Regions from separate parts of the Homo sapiens genome. Here region 2 is linked to region 1. Evidence: promoter capture Hi-C in human tissues and cell types (Jung and others, 2019). All regions are on one chromosome and are shown on one strand. The core of a region is centred on a gene start or on the middle of the fragment in contact, and the rest is flanking DNA. Distances in the headings are between cores, read along the strand shown. Region 1 holds the start of EIF3H (eukaryotic translation initiation factor 3 subunit H). Region 2 has its middle 91 kb from the start of SLC30A8.

Region 1 (2,948 bases), core at 204-2,703:
AGTTGTACCTCTTACATCTAGTGTATTTCATAAAGAGGGCCCACATGAACTGTCTCAGGACAGATGAAAATAACCCATTGTAGTATGTTTAGCACACGTGGCTGCAAAACCTTAGTTGGATATTTTCAAGGACAAAAAAATTGCAAAATATTTTAAACTTTACTTTGTAGTTTTACTGCTATGAGGATATTGGTATTGTAATTCTGAAACAAAACTGTGTTATGTATGTTGTAGGATAAAGCAATAAATAAATGTATTATTGTTTATAAGTAGCCTCACTGTTTTCTAATGCTCATCATTCCAGCTACCTAGTGGTAGGCAAAAACCTCCAGTCTGGTTCTTCCATGCGAGATTTTCTTTCTTCTTTTTGTGAATGTTCTGTTACCAATTTCTAGTGTAATTTTACCAGGATCAACCTTTAAAACCTCTAAATTTGTGGACTTTCTGTGTGACCTAGGGTTTGGTGTATTTTAATAAATATTTCATATACACTTGAAATGAGTGGATATTAACTTTTCATTTTGTAGTGTTAAGAATTTGTAACATGTAACTATTTCTCCTCCCAGATTGAAATATAACACCAGATCCCAATGACAAAACAACAAAAAACTTCAGGGCAGGATATGCCGTTTATTGATTTAATTATTTCATCAGTTCTGTATACATATTTATTGAATAAACATTTCAAAAATAAGGGATAGGAAAAAAGTCATTTGGAAGTAGAAAAGAATGTTTCAAATTACTTATCTAAAATGGCTTCTTACAGTTGTCATATATTCTTTTAAGGACTTGAGATGTGTATTTCAGAGTAATGTGTCATAAATCAGCGTGATTTTTAGAAAATATATTCTGTATCATCCTTCAACAATACCTCAGATAACTTCTTTGGTACTTTACTCAGGTAAATCTCTACATGAAGCTAATAGCAAAAGGCTACTATTTCTGGTAATTCTGATAAAAGTTTCTATGTCTTAATTTCTATATAATCTAAGTGGTTACAAGCAGCTATCTAAAATTACGTAAAACAAGCTGTGCAATACTGGCTCATCGCTAATTAACAGAATAATGTCGGACAAATCACTTATCAGTTTTCTAATATGCATAATGCGAGTTAGTACAGCACTTCATTGCAAGATCAGAAATGAAAGCATTTTTACATAAGAGACACTACAGAAATAATGCGAACTGTAATGCTATTATGACGGTTTGCCTAGTGGTGAATGATTAAACATTTAAAAAGTTTACTTTCATCTTAGATCATTCCATCGGAAAGAGGTCGAAAATGTACAGTAGGCATGCACAAAGGATACCGCCTGGAAAGAAGGTAAAACTGGAAAACAGGAGGGAGGCGGGGCCCAATTTTGGCTTCTCCTTCCGTCTCCGCCCCTCGAACGCCGGCCTGCGAGTGACGTCACGCGAGACTTGTACTTCCGCTTCCGGTAACTCACGTTTCTCTTTCTTCCTGTCTGCTTGGAAAGATGGCGTCCCGCAAGGAAGGTACCGGCTCTACTGCCACCTCTTCCAGCTCCACCGCCGGCGCAGCAGGGAAAGGCAAAGGCAAAGGCGGCTCGGGAGATTCAGCCGTGAAGCAAGTGCAGATAGATGGCCTTGTGAGTGCTGTTCTTTTTCCTCTGGCCCACGTGGGGAGCGCAGTTCCCAGCCCCGTCCCACCAGACGTACTTTCTAGCATTCTCCCCCTTGGGCTTGGTGTGGCTGGGCCAAAGTTTTTCCCTAGTACGTTTCTCTTTCATCTTCACTTTTTGTTCAGGAGCTTCGACAGCCTTCTCTTGTCTTCTAACGGGACAGTTGGGGCTTCAGGAAGGGGACTGAGAATAGGGGTGTGAGTGACAGGTTCCTGGGGTCTTGTTTTGAGATGACCGGTGGGGGGATTTGAAGAAAGACTCCTGGAGACCAGCAGCTAACGAAGGTGTCGAGAAGGATTTAGGGACCTAGTAGGGCTCTGGGAAGGAGAGAGTAAGGAAACTCCACTGATTCCCTGCTGGGATCTGACATCTATAACGTTCCAAGTGGAGATGTACTTTGTAGCCACTCTTTTGAGCCTGTACTTCGGCGCTTTATCTGAAACCGTATAATTTAGAATACTCTTTTGTAGTGTTCATTCTGAAAAACATAAAAGAATATCAAAGAGAAGGGCCTTAAATGTATTTAGTAGTTAAGGTTCATGAACTAGGACATCCAAGGAAATTCTTGATAAGGAAATGGACTTAGCTGGGAAGAGGAAAATCTAGAATGAGAAATTTTATTTCTGTTGTTTCGAAGCAAAATGCATTTATATGACGTTCTAGTTTTAAAAGTATCCTTCCTGCCCTCTTTTTAAAAAGCATCCTCTCTTCCTTTGATTTTTTTAAAGGTTATTTCCTATTAATGCAGATCTTAGATATTTGTAATAAGAAAGTACTTTTAAATTCATGTGAAAATTGTAATTGCAAGCAGGTATTTTTAAGTGGAAACTGTTGATAATTTAAACGCAGCATATAATTGAATCTGTTGAACTGACTTAGTTAAACTGGATACAAGAGTGTAGCCTGGTGGTTAAGAGCTCATTCAGTCTTCTAGGCTCTTCCACTTAACCAGCTCTGTGACTTTAAGGCAAGTTAGCCTTTCCAGGCTTTGCTTTCCTCATCTGTCAAGTGGGAATGAGAAGTATCTGTATCATAGAGTTGTTTGGATTAAATGAAAAAGTTTATGTGGTGACCTGTAGTACAGTGTAATCACTTAATGTTAATTATGATTATTATTATGAGTTTAATGTCTGTGGTTAGCAGAGTTTGAAAGATGCAGGCAAGAGATTAACTTTGGAATGTTTTGTTCTAAATGTCACTTGTGTAATACTTTGAAAATGCAGGCCGGGCGTGGTGGCTCACGGCTGTAATCCCAGCACTTTGGGAGGCCGAGGCGGGCGGATCAGGAGGTCAGGAGTTCGAGAC
Region 2 (2,948 bases), core at 211-2,710, 290 kb before region 1:
AGTCACCTGGAGTCAGCCCACCTAGGTCACGGACTCCAAGTTGCTTCTTCAAATATGGGAGTGGGAGCCCGTGGCCTCTGTTCAGTATTTCCAAACCTAACAGACACTGCCTGTTTATCCACAATAAAACTGCACAAGCTGCCAAAACATCCAACTTCTTTGCTTTGGGCTGGAATGATATTAACCCAGGCTAGCTGTGTTTGTCATTTCTCAGTTTCCAGAAACCAAAATTGACACTTAGGGGTCTCTTTGATGAATACCAAATAAACAATAAATTAACTGCTTTTTTTAAAAAAAGGTAATTTGTTGGATCATAAAAAACCTTTCAAGTACGGTGGGGGAACGATGAAATGGAAGCCTGGTGAGGAGAAAGATGGCAATATTCTTCCCTGATGTTATAGAGCATCTCAGCATTTCCTCCATCCAGATTGTAAAAGGTTCCTCCACTAGAAAAACCAGAACCTTCCTTTAGGAGAAGAATAAGGCTAATGGTCCATATTATTACCCTCCAACATGCTTTAAAAGGTCAAATCGTGGTTCCATCAAAGCTGGGCTGGCTCCCAGTTACACCGCTGAAAGGATGAAATTTTGCCTTTTCCAAAAGAAGGAGGATGCAGAAGGCAATGCTGTCAGTAGAGAAATTAATTCCTGGCAGGCCAGTGTTAAATTCCCTACTGGAATCCCTGGCTCGCGTTTGTTTAATGCATCTTGTGGATGGAGCCACGAGAAGCACAACAGCTCGGAATTTGCAGCTAGTTCTGAGGCAGAAGGCGCCTTCTCGCCACAAGATGGCAGCAGGAGCCTGCGTTTGAAGCCAGGGCTCCGCGGTCCTGCAGCAGTATTTCCCCCACCGCCCAGGAGGATCTGATTCCCCGAATTTTAACCAATTGTGTTACAGCTTTTGTCTCCAAAAGGACAGAAATAGGTTTTCTCTTTCCCTCTAATTGATTTTAAGTTTCCTTTTGTTCAAGCTCTGCTAAAAAGAAGAGAGCCCTATTTTTCAAGACGTCTATTAAGTGGGCCAAATAATTATACCCCAAAGATAAACCTTTTCTCTGAAAACCACGCTCAATATTTGCTCTAGAAGCAATGCTTGTGCTCTGTCAACCCGCTGACACGCCTTAGGGAAGCAGTCGACCCCCTGGGGATGCTTTGGCTTTCTCCTCCAAACCCAGTTGTTGGCTGATTGAACAAGAATCATCTGCTGGGACGCGTCCTCTGGGGACTGGTGGGCGCGTCTAAAAAGGTGATAAATTTGCCCTTTGGTTTCCAGGCCTCGTTACTGGATTCTCCATCACCCTTTTGCAGAGAATAACATCACCTAATAAGGACAAACAGCCTCCAATGTGTACTCAGTCATTTGTCCAATGAATAAACAATGTTACCGATTTACTAGTCTTCCTTCCATACTGACTTTCTGTTGCACAGCAGCCCCAGAAACAATGGTGAATTCTTGGCCTTTGTGTACGCGGATACCCCTCTGCCTGAACACTTTACCCCAGGCTCTTCACTTGGGTAAGACCACTACCTCCTCAGTCCTCAATCTAAATGTCACCTCCTTTGGATAGACTTGTCAAGGCCAGTTCTAATGAGAGTCCCCTCACAAAGCTCACATCACATCCTACGCTTCCATCATTACAGTTCTTCCAACACTATATAATAACTACTAGTTGATGGATCATCTCTCCCCAAAGAATGTAAGCTCCTCAAAGGCAGTGTCTCCATCTGACTTAGTTTACCTTATAGCCTGTAGCTTAAAGTTGCCTCCTCAACACTTATTGAATAAAATAATTGCAGAACTAAAAAACATACTGAAATTTTTGAACTTACCTTTTCATATAATGTAACTATGAATTCTACCTACTGTTTTTTGAGGTATCTCATTTACGTGGATTTCAGTACGCCATTTTCAACCCAGGGTGGTGGTGGGGCAAGGCAGGTGGAGAGAATTATAAATGGAAAATGTTGAGAATTGCACAAATCTCTGAGTAGCTCACAGGCACATGTCACAATATTATCCGTATTATATTTTTCTATGGGGGAAAAGTGTCTGGTGTCAGACCTTATGGGATCAAGTTAAAATACCCCTGTTTTATAGTCAAGTTATTCTGAAATCTGACCCTATCTTTATCAATCACCTTTATCACCTGTGTGGTATCTCCCCAACCAGGAGTATCTCTCATTTTTCCAAATACATGCCAGGCTTCTCTCACTTTTGTGATTATTCTGACTGCCTGACATACGATGACTTCCCTGGTGTCTCTCTATTCACGCACTTCCCACTCATCCTCACAAACCCACTCAAGTTCTCTTTCTGCCGGAAGCTTCTCCTGACCAACGAAGCCCATGCTGATTTCCTGTCTCTGAAAGTCCACAGTTTGGAGGGTCTGGATCCAATGTCCTTGGTTTCTGTAATTCAAATCACAACTTGATAAGCTCTAGCATGCTAGAATCCCAAAAAACAGGCTCCATGCTAACTGGGAGTGAAAACTCTACATTTTTGCTTTTTCTCTAATTATATACTGTCTGGAAACTTATTCTCCCCAACCAAAAAAATATAAGCTGCTCAAAGAAAGCTTTATGTTATATATCTTTGATATCCTGCAGGGTTTCTGATATGATCCTAAGCATAAACCCTCCATAAAGGTTGATTCACATAAGTAACCCTGTAAATTGACAGATGAATAGTACTACATTAGCCTGGGCGCGGTGGCTCACGCCTGTAATCCCAGCACTTTGGGAAGCCAAGGCCAGCGGATCACCTGAGGTCAGGAGTTCGAGACCGGCCTGCCCAACATGGTGAAAACCCGTCTCTACTAAAAATACAAAAATTAGCCGGTTGTGGTGGCACATGCCTGTAATCCCAGCTACTCGGGAGGCTGAGGCAGGAGAATCGCTTGAACCCGGGAGGCGGAGGTTGCAGTGATCCAAGATCATGCCACTGCACT

The links. Contacts are between HindIII fragments. The study calls those that stand out against the background at their distance.
Region 2: a contact is called between a fragment that was not itself captured here and the fragment with the promoter of EIF3H in region 1, in 1 of the 25 tissues and cell types used here (dorsolateral prefrontal cortex).

Annotation. Positions count from the first base shown.
Region 1 is chr8:116,754,328-116,757,275 of GRCh38, reverse strand. It overlaps EIF3H (eukaryotic translation initiation factor 3 subunit H), which reads left to right and starts at 1,453. Exons shown (of 8, transcript NM_003756.3): 1 at 1,453-1,610. The coding sequence starts at 1,479. The HindIII fragment of the contact is 13,175 bases long and covers 1-1,804 here.
Region 2 is chr8:117,042,726-117,045,673 of GRCh38, reverse strand. It overlaps a transcript of SLC30A8 not described here. Among named protein-coding and RNA genes, the nearest start is that of SLC30A8, 91 kb to the left of the region's middle. The HindIII fragment of the contact is 4,504 bases long and covers 1-2,948 here.